Linked DNA regions of Homo sapiens: region 1 is linked to region 2. Evidence: promoter capture Hi-C in 16 types of primary human blood cells and fetal thymus (Javierre and others, 2016). All regions are on one chromosome and are shown on one strand. Each heading gives the region's core, a stretch centred on a gene start or on the middle of the fragment in contact. The rest is flanking DNA. Distances are from core to core; before and after follow the strand shown.

What was found. Contacts are between HindIII fragments. The CHiCAGO score rates a contact against its expected background, and 5 or more counts as called.
Region 1: a contact is called between a fragment that was not itself captured here and the fragment with the promoter of BLACE in region 2, in 5 of 17 cell types (M0 macrophages, M1 macrophages, M2 macrophages and 2 more). The highest score is 9.8, in M0 macrophages.

What each region holds. Positions count from the first base shown.
Region 1 is chr7:155,189,216-155,195,885 of GRCh38, forward strand. It overlaps LOC124901782 (a long non-coding RNA gene), which reads right to left. Exons shown (of 2, transcript XR_007060602.1): 2 at 6,370-6,670. Among named protein-coding and RNA genes, the nearest start is that of INSIG1, 110 kb to the right of the region's middle. The HindIII fragment of the contact is 1,504 bases long and covers 4,243-5,746 here.
Region 2 is chr7:155,363,052-155,370,238 of GRCh38, forward strand. It overlaps BLACE (B cell acute lymphoblastic leukemia expressed), which reads right to left and starts at 4,882. Exons shown (of 6, transcript NR_103545.1): 1 at 4,758-4,882; 2 at 53-146. It overlaps LOC105375593 (a long non-coding RNA gene), which reads left to right and starts at 1,130. Exons shown (of 3, transcript XR_928236.4): 1 at 1,130-1,415; 2 at 2,129-2,339; 3 at 6,751-7,187. The HindIII fragment of the contact is 7,901 bases long and covers 2,081-7,187 here.

The DNA.
Region 1 (6,670 bases), core at 3,745-6,244, 170 kb before region 2:
AGAGCCGTGGACACTGACGGCTGGGCTGCCCCAAGGTTCTGACTCAGTAATTCTGGGCTGGGGCTTGAAATTTTGCATTTCCAACAAGTCCTGCCCTAACTGTTCTAGGGATAATCCAGGGTTGATATTGGATAATCCAGGGTTGATATTGCATCATCAAGGAATTTGTTTCATTGCAAGGCCAGTAAGTATCACCAGTTTGTAAGCAGCTTACTATTTCTGTATCATCTCGTATTTCAGGCATGAGAGCGGAGGCGCCTCTGCCTGGTGAGCTGAACAAAAGTGGATCCACTTCTATCTGGACAAAGGCCCACTGCCAGCTTCACCTTCAGATTTTACACATCCTCTTCCTCAACTTTAGAGTGACAACAAATGTAGTTCACACATATGAACCAGTGAGTGAACGTGTGCAATGAAAATGCGCTTACATTTAAAAATCAAATTGCAGCAGGCCTTTCTGAGCTGGGCAGACCCTGTGCTGGGTCTACGACAGCACATCCCCCTCAGACGTGGCCCGCACGCCGCACATAGCCCAGCGAGGGGCGTTCTGCAGAAACGTCAGCGAGCTCATGGCTAACGTGCTCAGAATAGACACTGCCAGCTAACTTCCAGTCACCTGGCTATGACACACTCAAGCCTGTGAGAGTGAACCGGGTTTGTAAAAACCAGGACTAGTCAAAGCCCATTATTAAGTTTTACACTTTGCTCCCTGGCCTAAGGGAGTAGAAATCCAAGCTTGAAGGGAAAGGAGGGGTCTGATTTGGTGAACAGAGATATGAGGCTGAGGCTTCTGAGCACGTGGGTTTGGGGTAGGGGTAGGGGCGTGGGGGTACTGAAGATCAAGAAGAGGCTGAGGACACTCAAGGGAGAAACCCGGGCTCTAGAGCCAGCCCCCGTGGGACAGGCCCTGGCTCTGTGTGATCTTGGGCAAGTCTTAGCCTTTCTGTGCCTCAGTTGCTTACTGTAGAATGCGGTAACTACTGCTGTTATGGGCAGGGTTATGTCCCCCCAAATTTATAGTTGAAGCTCTAACCCCCCAGTGTCACTATACCTGGAGATGGGGACTCTAAGGAGGTGATTAAGGTTAAATGAGGTCAGAAGGGTGGGACCCTAACCCAATAAGACTGTGGCCCTAGAAGAAGATGAGAAGCTCTCTCTGTCTGTCTCTCTGTTTCTCTCTCTGTCTCTCTTTCTCTCTCTGTGATATAAAGGTGGCCATTGGAAAACCAGGAAGAGAGGCCTCAGGAGAAACTAACCCTGTTGATCTTGGATTTGGACTTGGACTTGATCTCAGACTTCCAGGGTCCAGAACTGTGAAGAAATAAATGATTGTTAAAGCCACCTCGTCTGTGACAATCACCCCCCCCCCCCCCCGCAGCGATTTGGTGAACTGGAACTGAACATACACAACACCCCTTCTTCTTCCAACTCTCCTTCTCTGTGCATTCTTTCACTCCCACCCGACTCCCACCCCCAAATCTTCATAGAAACATCTGGAGAATGTGCTCAAATCTCAAACCCCGGGGCGGGACCCTGCACTACCAAGCGCGGCCACTGAGCGGCACTCACACCCGGCGGCGCGCGCTGGTTCTCCCGCTCCGGCCGCGGGACTGGTGCGCACCTGGGACGCGGCCAGAGAGGCTGAACCCCTAACGTTTTATTCTGATGAATTTAGATTGAAAGATGGAAGCTATGTACGTTATTTTTCCTTTAAATGGACCTTCATGGTTCCACTAGGGCGACATGTTGCTGCAATGGCTAATCATTCAGCCTCCGAAGGAGACGTGCGGCGACTGAAACGCACGCCAGATTTTGAAGACCGTAGGAAAAAAAAAAAAGCGAGCCAGTCATTGAGACTTTTTAAATTGATTACATGTGGAAATGCTAATGTTCCAGCGGGACTGGATTAAACAGGACATTATTAACATGCATTCCACCTGTTTCTGGTTACTTTTTAAATTTGGCTAAATGGGCATTTTACATTACAGGTGTGTGGGGGTGGGGGCTGACCTGTGGCCTCGGCTTCTGGCCCTGGGCCTTCCCTTCCTCCCACTTGCCACGGGGGCCGGGTCCGGGAGCAGAGCTCTGCAGTTAGGGCTGCTGAGAGGCGCAGGTGCAGAGGACGGGTGGGTGCCCAGGCCCAGGGCACAGGGTCAGGGGTCGGAAACCTGCCAGTCTTTAAAACTACATTTCACAGAGGATCCATCCCGGCCGTCTATACATAGGGTGGGTCCTCCGTCAATCCATCCAGCACCCACTGAGTTCACCCCATCTATCCTATGTATAAGAAAATCGCGGACCGATCACGGGGGCTCATGTCTGTAATCCCAGCACTTTGGGAGGCTAAGGCAGGTGGATCACCTGAGGTCTGAAGTTCCAGACCAGCCTGGACAACATGGTGATACCCCGTCTGTACTAAAAACACCAAACTTAGCCCTGCGTGATGGTGCATGCCTGTAATCCCAGCTATTCAGGAGGCTGAGGCAGGAAAATCACTTGAACCCAGGAGACAGAGGTTGCAGTGAGCAGAGATCACGCCACCGCACTCCAGCCTGGGTGACAGAGCGAGACTCCATCTCAGAAAAAAAAAAAAGTGAAAAAGAAAAAAAAGAAAATCACCCAGTGCTTGGCAGTCACCATACAGCCAAGACCCACCCATCATTCAAGTCCACCCCAGGCTGGCTTCATTATTTTTGGGGAGGACTGGACCTTCATTTGACTTGCTATTTACCATTGATTAGGGCCTAGACTTTGTGAAGTTACATGTTAATTTGTAGATATTTTGTCAGTAGAGATGCAAATGATTTCAGTCTGGTGGAGAATGAAATCACTGAAACTACTGGCCCCCAAGGCCGTGGTTTTAGTTTGCGGTAGGATATTGATCACTTTGGCCTCTAACTTAGCAGACTTCCTTTACAGGGGCTGTGTTGGCTGATGAAACAAAACTCTGTCAGCCACTCTTTGAACCAGTTGTACAATTTTGCCCTTTCCCAGTCTGGGCTAAGCAAATCTCTGATGTGTTCATTCCAGATTTGTATGAGAGTCTTATATTTAACTGTTAAGTTTATAAGGTTTACTCAAGTAGTTAACTGAATCAGGAGAGAAATTTGAGATGAGGTTGAGGTTAACCCCTGGGGAAATGATGTCCACAGCATCACAGGGAATGGTTACCCTAAGCCGGGGCATGCACGTGGGGAGGGAGGAAAACTGGAAAGACTCTTTCATCCAGAAAGATGAAGGCTGAGAGGGGAGGCAGGTGGCATTTGTGATTCCATAGACAGCGTCAAAGAGAGGAACCTAAGCTTGTTGCCAAACCTGAGAAGTAGAAACCTCTTTCAGGTGAAAAGAGGCTGTGTGAGAGGAGAAAGGAAGGGAGTCTCTGCTTCAATGGTGTCAGAAGTGGAGGAATCTTTGACAGATGCTGGAGTCAGTCTGTGTCCCGTGTCTTTGAGGAACTAGCCCCGTGAGACACAGCCCCTGACCTCAGGGAGCAAGCAATCTAGCGGTGTCCACAAAAGCAACACCTGAAGATTAAATAATACAAAATACATTTCAGGAAATACGTAGAACATTTCAAGCCACTGGTGCAGACAGTGGGAGCTCAGAAATCAGAGGAGGAGGTGCCAGTGGGACTGGGGTCTGTTATGTTGTACAGCAAAACGCAATGAAGTTAAGGACCTCGAGAGGAGTTGCTGATCCTGGGCTATCCAATGGAGTCCTAGGTACAGTCACATGTGTCCCCATAAGATGGGCAGAGGGAAATCAGAAGCACCACAGAGGACAGACAAGGGTCTTGAAGACAGAGGCAGAGACTGGGGGATGCAGCCACAAACCAAGGAATCTCAGCAGCCACCAGGAGACAAAGATAGATTCTCTCCAGGGCCTCTGGAGGGAGTGGGACCTGCTGGCACCTTGATTCCAGACCTCGGGACTGCAGAGCAGCAAGAGGAGACATTTCTGTTATTCTCAGCCACCTGGTTTGTGGTGATTTGTTACAGCCACCCCAGGACGCGAATACCTTCCCTCACATGCCTAAGCTGAGACGGTTGGAACCACAGGGCAACTGGACACACACCCCGACTCTCTGCGCTGCACTTGGGCTGCCTCCCAGCATGGCAGTCCCAATGGTCAGACTTCACAAAGGTGCTAGCCTCCAAGAGGACAGTTCCCAGGATGGGGAAGCAAGAGCCCCAGGCATTTGAAGAGGAAGTTACCCAGCCTCATCCCTCCCACCCCTGAGCAAGCTTCAGGGCCAGCCCGGCACTAGCGGAGGGGAAGGAGCCCATTCTCCCCATGAGAAGACTACAAAGCACCCACCCAGATGGGGTATGTGGGGCTGCTCCTCTGAGCACTGACCCCCGGCTTCCAACCGCAGACCATCCTCAGAGCTCAGCGGGTCCCTTCTCCACATCCTCAACCCTACAGCCTAGAGTTTTCAGTGCCCAGGACCCTTTCAGAACAGGAATGTGTGGAACAAGCTCTAAATCTAGAGTGTAACTTAACACATACATAAAATTGCTTTCTTTCAGGTTTATTTTTAAGAAGCAAATGTTATTAATTTCCGGAGAAGGAAATGAAAGAAGATGCTGCAATGATAGTGTCTGCAGAACAGCTTCAAAATCACACAAAGAGACAGACTCATGAAGGTGATATTGCAAAACCAGCATGGCATGGGGGCAGACACTGTGCTGTGGAGGGGACAGTGTGGAAGCCACATTCCCTGTTTCCTTCTATCCTCCTCCCACTCTCTTGAGTTGAATCACCCTCTAGTGGGGCCTGGGCCTGCTTGTTCACCCAACGTCTGATGCACAGTTCATTGTTACTCCTTCTTTTAACTGCATCATCCTTTACTTATAAAGAATTTGGAGAGGCAAATAAGGTCGTATTAAAACCAGTTGGAGCATGATATATAATGCATGGTATAGCCAACAAGCAACAGTGAATCCTTTGAACACACTTTCTCCAGTGTGCATCTGGTAAGGAGGCTAAGTTCTTAGTGGGATAGCGCTATTATTAATCAGAAAGTTTGAAGGTGCTTTTTGAGAATTAACCCCAGAGCTACAGAGTTATGCATCATTATCAGTATACCAGCCTATACTTTGTTCAGTGCTTTACAATTTAATAAGTGCCTGATTTCTTTCTCAGCACTATGTGAGGAAGGTGTTACCATTGGTTAAGGATGCAACAGCCAAGGTTGAAGGAGACTAACTGCTTCGCCGTCTGCTTATTCTCAGCTGTAAACAGCTTGCAGGAGGACAATCTGCATTGTTCGCAGAGAAGCAAATATGACCCAGAGGTCAGAGTCGCAAGAGCCCAGCAATTTGTCTTTGCTCCTTAATCCACTCTGTGCCATCCAGGGAGAGATAGTAACACTGATTTCTGAATAGTGCTTTGTGTGTTACACAGTGGCTTCATATCCAGCGCCTCCCCCACCTCCTCCGCCCTCACTAGGGGTGGATTGCCCCTGAGCAGGGTCTGAGGGGCAATGGATCGGGGTGCTGCAGGGGCTGAAAGCTGCAACTTTGCAGGATGTTTGTGTAGTCATGACAGCCTCGCGGAAAGCCTTGGGAGCATGGGGCGTCCTAATCATCCTGACAACTCCGGGTGGAGGGTACACCGCCGTGCTCCATGCCATCGGGACAGAGCTGGGATATGCAGGCCATGGCGAACAAGCACACAGCACAAACCTGTGCCGCACTGTCCAGGTCAGTGCTTCTCATCCAGAGAGGCTTCATCCCCCTGGACAAGCTTGGCCATGTCTGGGGACAGTTTGGATTGTCCCAGCTGGGGAGGGGTGTGGAGGGTGCTGCTGGCATCAGTGAATGAACGGAGACCGGGGATGTTACTAAACATCCTACAAGGCACAGGGCAGCCCCTGCCACAGAGAATCACCAGGCCCAAAGTGTCAATGAGGCAGAGGTTGAGGAAGCCTGGCATAGGGGTTTTACCTGTTATGAACATGTTAATCCACCGGCTGATGTGAAACAGATGCCAGGATCAGTCCCCACTTTGCAATTGAAAACAGAAAAAGCAGGGGTCTCAGTCCTTGTATGAAACAAGGTAGTTTTTCAGCCAAACAAAAAACATTAAATGAAATAAAGTCAAGGTACTTTGAATCATTTTGCCTCATAATTTATAAAAAAAATTAGCAGTAATGAATATCAACAGACTAAGTATTGTAAAAGAGGCTTTCAAAAAGCAGAAATTACAGAGAAGACAAAGAAAATAGGCAAAAACACATGGCTTATAGGAGATTTTGTTCATTTCTTTTGCTTTGTGTTACCCTCTTCCCATGGTCCTGCCTTCCTTGGGTTATTTGAATATATTTTTTATTCCATTTTAAATAATCCATTGTCCTTTCTGGCTATATCTTTTTGTATCAGTTTATTAGTAGTTTCTCTAGGGATTACAATACATATATTTAACATTTTATAGTCCACTTAGAGTTCATATCTTACCATTTCAAGTATATTATAGAAGGCTTATGACTCTATTGGTTCATTTATCCTCCTCTCCTTATGTTATAATTGTCATATGTACCACATCTCAGTAATAATTATACCCAGAAAATGTTACAATATTTGCTTTCAACAGTCATATACATTTTAAATAATTTAAAAAGAGAAAAAGAATTCATTATATTTACCAGATATTTATCATTTCTGTTGCT
Region 2 (7,187 bases), core at 3,632-6,131:
CACTGTCATCTCCATTTAAAAACCAGACTGGACCAGATACCGTGGCTCATACCTGTAATCCCAGCACTTTGGGGAGCCAAAGCAGGAGGATCACTTGAACTCAGGAGTTCAACACCAGCCTGGACAACATGGCGAGACCCCCATCTCTACAAAAAAACAAAAAACCAAAAAAACAAATTAGCTGGGTGTGGTGGCCCATGCCTGTGGTCCCAGCTACTTGGGAGACTGAGGCGGGAGGATCCTTGAGCATGGGAGATGGAGGCTACAGTGGGCAGTGATTGCGCCGCTGCACTCCCGGCTGGGTGACCAAATGACACCCTGTCTCAAAAACAAAAAACAAAACAAAATGAAGTACAAAAAGACCCGGCCTGGGCACTCCGAATTCAGGAAAACCGTTTCAGGTGTCACACAACAGACCTGACCTCGGTGATCTAACCCCCATCTTCTTCCCACATTAGGCACCTTCTAAAGTGATTTGATTTTCTCTGAGTGAAAATTCACTTGCCACCTGCAAAAGTGACAGGGAACCCGGCTCCCAAACTTCTAAGTCTCCCCTCTGCCCAGACGCCAGGGCTTGCAGGTGCCTTCCCTTCACAGTGAACGCTTCTTCCCGTTTAAACTTTCATTTTGCAACTCTAGGTGAACTGAATGTCAAGAGTTTGGAGTTTATTTTCCTCCAGAGAAGGTCAGTGGTGGCTGGGTGAGGTGACCACAGAGGCGGGAGGGCCAGGGAAAGACTTACCAGGAGTTTTCATCTCTTTAGACTACATTAAGTCCAAACCAGGGAGCACTGAGTCAGCTCTCAGTTATCTGGGGGCCCATGAGCTTAGGGACTAACACCCCCGCCCACACCGAAGCCCTCTGCACCTTGCCTGCCTCACCCACGGAGACTTTGCACCTTTCACCTGCACGGACAGAAAAGGTCGGCAGAGGACAGCATGCAGCGGAATTCAACCCTGCCCCTTTCTCTGCCTGCAGAGGGTGCAGTTAAAAAAAGATAAAGTCATTGATGCTGCATCCGTTTATGTGGCTTCAGAGAACAGAGAATCGGTTTGAAGCGGGTGATTTCTCAAGGCTGTTCCCATCCCCCACAGTGGTCTATGAAGCTTTGAAATCTGGAACCTTATTTGTTATACAAGCAACTCGGGGGCAGTTTTCAAGACAGGCCAGTACAGGAGCCTCAGGGCTCAGCTGCCAGGGGAAGGAAGCCTCACTCTTTCCTCCACACTGTCAAGATACAAACGTGGATGGGAAGGGCACACTCCACAGAAATTCAAAGACCATGCACCCTGGCTGCGGAGCTCACGGAGGACAGGCCAGATGCGCAGGAAGAGTGAAGCAAGGCCCGTGAGGCAGGTCAAACGTCAAACCGACTCTATCGGCATCCAGAGGGGCTGTGCAGGAGCAGACACACCGTGGGTATCCCCATGGGACACTCTTGAGTGTCTGTCCAAGAAAGAGCTGAAGGGGGGACCACAGCACCAGTTCCTCCCAACCCCAGCACCTTCTGCTTCTCTGCCCCGTGGCCCTATTTCTATTCCTCCCTCCTTGGGCTCGTTTCATCTTCTCCCTGACCTAAGCCCTCGACCTGGGATTGACAGCTGTGGGTACAGACGGGCATGACTGAGCCCCGCTGGTCTTGCTGAGGTCTAAAGAGAAGAGTGGCTGAGAGCAGCTAGCGTTAGTGACAGGAATTGATCCCCAAGAGTTTCTCTCGTGCAGCATCCCAGCATCTGTGGTTATGATTCCTGCCCCACTTTGGAGGGAAGAGAATAAGACTCAGAGAGGTTGGAGGACAAAGCCACACAGCTAGTAAGCTCTAATTCAGCCTGCTGGGGGCTTAGCCCATGCTCAGAGCCACCATCCAGGCAGGCTCCTAAGTCTTCATTCATGGTTGTTTGCATTGCAAAGCCTTGGAATGAACTACAGCAAAACTCTTTGTTTTTGTAGGGAGCTAAGTTTTCTCGATGTGTAATAAGAATCTCAACTTTTAATCATATTTTGTCCACTTTGGAAGAAATCATCTAATTTGTTATTAAGCAGACACATCTCCTGACTTTTAATTGCAAGATATTAACTAAGCTTTCCTTTTTTTTGATGATTTGGGGACATTTGCTGGAGGGAGCAGTGACAGCCTCACTCCAGCTGTGTTGGTGCCATCCCTTGGGAAGGCAGGAGGTTTCAGGAACAGGAATCGTTGATGGGAACAGGTGTTTAGGCCAAAGAATTCCGAAGAGGTTGGCATTGCTGCCTTCCCAGATAGTGGACGGAAACAGGTGGATGGAGGCCAGGTCACCAGCGGGGATTAAGACTCATGCGATCAAAGCCCAGGAAAGAGGGTAAGTGGGAGCTGAGGCTCGGGCATTAAGACAACATCTGGAGTCTCTCCCGTGTGGGTTATTGGGTGAACGGCATTCAGGGCCAGCTGTGTCCTTTCAGATAAAACTAGAAGATTCAAACCTTCTTTCATTACATCTGCCCTCAGGGACAGGCAGGTTCTGAGGATTAAAGGCAGGGACTCTGCAGCTGGGTGGGTGGCTGGGCCTTCCTTCCGCCTCTCTCTTATCTATGCTTATTTATCCACATTGGATGGGACAGGAGTCTCTGTGAGAGGCAGTGCTGGCCAGTAGTTTTGAGCCAGATGGCGTGGTTACCATTCAAGGGAACGGGTCACCACTTAGCACAGTTAGCAGGCTGTGTGGCCTTGGGGAAGTCACCAAGCCCCTGGGTGCCTCTGTAAGATGAGAAGAAGAAGAGCATCTACCTTTGGGGCTTGCTATGGGGCTGCACTCACAGAGCTGCATGATGCCTGGCGATGCTGTGGGTTATTGTTATTATTATTACTACTACTATTACCTGCCAAGGCTTCCGTCTTTGGGTCTGTGGTTAGGGACCTGATGGTTGATCCTTTAATCCTTTTTTTTTTTTTTTTTTTTTTTTTTAGTTTTGTATAAATTATGTTTCATATCTTTTTATTTCAGAAATAATCATTGCTGGAAATGCTGTTAAATTTTTTGGAACTCTTCTTTTTTTTTTTTTTTTTTTTTTTATTGATCATTCTTGGGTGTTTCTTGCAGAAGGGGATTTGGCAGGGTCATAGGACAATAGTGGAGGGAAGGTCAGCAGATAAACAAGTGAACAAAGGTCTCTGGTTTTCCTAGGCAGAGGACCCTGTGGCCTTCCGCAGTGTTTGTGTCCCTGGGTACTTAAGATTAGGGAGTGGTGATGACTCTTAACGAGCATGCTGCCTTCAAGCATCTGTTTAACAAAGCACATCTTGCACCGCCCTTAATCCATTTAACCCTGAGTGGACACAGCACATGTTTCAGAGAGCATGGGGTTGGGGGTAAGGTCATAGATCAACAGGATCCCAAGGCAGAAGAATTTTTCTTAGTACAGAACAAAATGAAAAGTCTCCCATGTCTACTTCTATCCACACAGACCCGGCAACCATCCGATTTCTCAATTTTTTCCCCACCCTTCCCGCCTTTCTATTCCACAAAGCCGCCATTGTCATCATGGCCCATCCCCAATGAGCCGCTGGGCACACCTCCCAGACGGGGTCGTGGCCGGGCAGAGGGGCTCCTCACTTCCCAGTAGGGGCGGCCGGGCAGAAGCGCCCCTCACCTCCCGGACGGGGCGGCTGGCCGGGCGGGGGGCTGACCCCCGCCACCTCCCTCCCGGACGGGGCGGCTGGCCGGGCAGAGGGGCTCCTCACTTCCCAGTAGGGGCGGCCGGGCAGAGGCGCCCCTCACCTCCCGGACGGGGCGGCTGGCCGGGCGGGGGGCTGACCCCCCCACCTCCCTCCCGGACGGGGCGGCTGGCCGGGCAGAGGGGCTCCTCACTTCCCAGTAGGGGCGGCCGGGCAGAGGCGCCCCTCACCTCCCGGACGGGGCGGCTGGCCGGGCGGGGGGCTGACCCCCCCACCTCCCTCCCGGACGGGGCGGCTGGCCGGGCAGAGGGGCTCCTCACTTCCCAGTAGGGGCGGCCGGGCAGAGGCGCCCCTCACCTCCCGGACGGGGCGGCTGGCCGGGCGGGGGGCTGATCCCCCCACCTCCCTCCCGGACGGGGCGGCTGGCCGGGCGGGGGGCTGACCCCCCACCTCCCTCCCGGACGGGGCGGCTGGCCGGGCAGAGGGGCTCCTCACTTCCCAGTAGGGGCGGCCGGGCAGAGGCGCCCCTCACCTCCCGGACGGGGTGGCTGGCCGGGCGGGGGGCTGATCCCCCCACCTCCCTCCCGGACGGGGCGGCTGGCCGGGCGGGGGGCTGACCCCCCACCTCCCTCCCGGACGAGGCGGCTGGCCGGGCAGAGGGGCTCCTCACTTCCCAGTAGGGGCAGCCGGGCAGAGGCGCCCCTCACCTCCCGGACGGGGCGGCTGGCCAGGCGGGGGGCTGATCCCCCCACCTCCCTCCCGGACGGGGCGGCTGGCCGGGCGGGGGGCTGACCCCCCACCTCCCTCCCGGACGGGGCGGCTGGCCGGGCAGAGGAGTCCTCACTTCCCAGTAGGGGCGGCCGGGTAGAGGCGCCCCTCACCTCCCGGACGGGGCGGCTGGCCAGGCGGGGGGCTGATCCCCCCACCTCCCTCCCGGACGGGGCGGCTGGCCGGGCAGGGGGCTGACCCCCCTCCCCCCTCCCGGACTGGGTGGCTGGCCGGGCGGGGGGCTGACCCCCCCACCTCCCTCCTGGACGGGGCGACTGGCCGGGCAGAGGGGCTCCTCACTTCCCAGTAGGGGCGGCCGGGCAGAGGAGCCCCTCACCTCCCGGACGGGGCGGCTGGCCGGGCGGGGGGCTGACCCCCCCCACCTCCCCCCCGGACGGGGTGGCTGCCGGGCGGAGACGCTCCTCACTTCCCAGACGGGGTGGCTGCTGGACGGAGGGGCTCCTCACTTCTCAGACGGGGTGGTTGCCAGGCAGAGGTGCTCCCCACCTCTCAGACGATGGGCGGCCAGGCAGAGACGCTCCTCACTTTCCAGACGGGGTGGCGGCCGGGCAGAGGCTGCAATCTCGGCTCTTTGGGAGGCCAAGGCAGGCGGCTGGGAGGTGTAGGTTGTAGTGAGCCGAGATCACGCCGCTGCACTCCAGCCTGGGCACCATTGAGCACTGAGTGAACGAGACTCCGTCTGCAATCCCAGCACCTCGGAAGGCCGAGGCTGGCGGATCACTCGCGGTTAGGAGCTGGAGACCAGCCCGGCCAACACAGCGAAACCCCGTCTCCACCAAAAAAAAACGAAAACCAGTCAGGCGTGGCGGCGCGTGCCTGCAATCACAGGCACTCGGCAGGCTGAGGCAGGAGAATCAGGCAGGGAGGTTGCAGTGAGCCGAGATCGCAGCAGTACAGTCCAGCTTCGGCTCGGCATCAGAGGGAGACCGTGGAAGGAGACCGTGGGGAGAGGTAGAGGTAGAGGTAGAGGTAGAGGTTAGAGGTTAGAGGTTAGAGGTTAGAGGTAGAGGTAGAGGTAGAGGTAGAGGTAGAGGTAGAGGTAGAGGTAGACGTAGAGGTATCCTTTAATCTTTCTAGGACAGGTACAGTGGCTCATGCCTGTAATCCCAGCACTTTGGGAGGCCGAGGTGGGAGGATCACTGGAGGCAGGCGGATCACTGGAGCCAAGGAGTTCAAGACCAACCAGGGCAACATAGTGAGACCTTGTCTCTACAAGAAGTTTAAAAAATTAGCCAAGCATGGCGGCGCATGCCTGTAGTCCCAGCTACTTGGGAGGATGAAGCTAGAGGATTGCTTGAGCCCAGAAGGCAGAGGCTGCAGTGAGCAGTGATCACACCACTGCACTCCAGCCTGGGCGACAGAGCAAGCTCCTATCTCAAAAAAAAAAAAAAAAACAGATAATCTTTCTAGGACTTGATTTCCCAGGCTCCATAATGGCAATCTGCGCAGGCAGCTTCTGGCTCTGAGTCTTCCTGTTTCTGTGGTGCCACTGCCAGCACAGGGAGGTCATTCTGTATCATGTCACTTGCTTGGTGTTTTACACCCATGGATGATGAAACAGCAACTGCAGCCTGGAGTGCTGGGAGGCAGAGAGAGTCTCGCTTCCCAGGCCATCTGGCTTACTGTGAAGGCCAGAAGCAGCACAGCCTCTCTTGGTCACCAGGGATCAGGACTCAGGTGGAGAGGGTGGGGCAGGGGCTGGCAGTGGAGACAGGTCCACACTGGGAACCAGCTGTGCCAGGCAGTGTGGCCCTGAAGCCCCTAAGGTGTGTCAAGAGGGGTCTTTCAGGAAATGGTTAGAGAGTGCAGGTGTTGTGTTTCTCTCTGACATGTAAACATATGTCTTTCTAGACAGGCAGGTCTCCCTATACCTGCCTTACGTGGGAAGCACGTCCGCAGGAGAGGTGCCACCCAGTGCCTCCAGCACTGATCAGGCCTTTCTCAGGTGTTGGGCAGGGAGAGGCAGAGCCCAAGAGAAGCCTCAGCAGAACACTAACAGTGGAAAGGAGGCAGTGAGGTGGAAGCAGCTTCTTTGGTACATGCAGAAAGTTCTAGAAAGGCCTTTTGGCTTAGAATCCTAGCTCTATTCACGTGAAGCAGCACTTCGGCATGAGGTGGTGCTTGAGGGCCCCTTGTCTGAGTAAAACGTGGATGTTGTAGCTGGTTTTGGGGGCTGTGGGACTCCCCCATCTGCACACCCCCTACTCAGCCGATGTGGTAAGCATTTAGCCACAGCAAGTGCTTACTTAGTATTTGTTGGTTCCTGATACACAGAAATCTCTGTGATCCAAGCAGTGTTTCTCCCATAGGACTCTACCCTGCCAACCCTCAGCTCGGCTCAGCTCAGCAGCTCGCTAACTGTGAAACTCGGACGGACATCCTGTGATCACTCCAACGCTTTAAAATTCATCAAAGCGCAGAGCGCTGCCTGGCCGCAGCCCATTGCTCTGTTGTTCTGAGGGGCAAGGCCACAGCGACCTACAGCAGGGAAGAGACAAACACAGATCTGGTGCAGAGATTATTCGGGTCATCGATGACAGGCAGGCAAGAAAGCAGGAGCGTTTCCTGCACGGCCACACCCAAGCAGAACCTTTTCAGGGTACTCATCCCTTTTTAGGCTGGGCTTCGCTCCCCAGCGAGGTCAGCAGGGCCAGCTGATTGTTTTTATTTTACAGGTGTGGGATTCCCTCTGGGGTCTGACTGCCACACTCAGACACAGAAGGGGCAGCAGGGGCAGGGTTTCTAG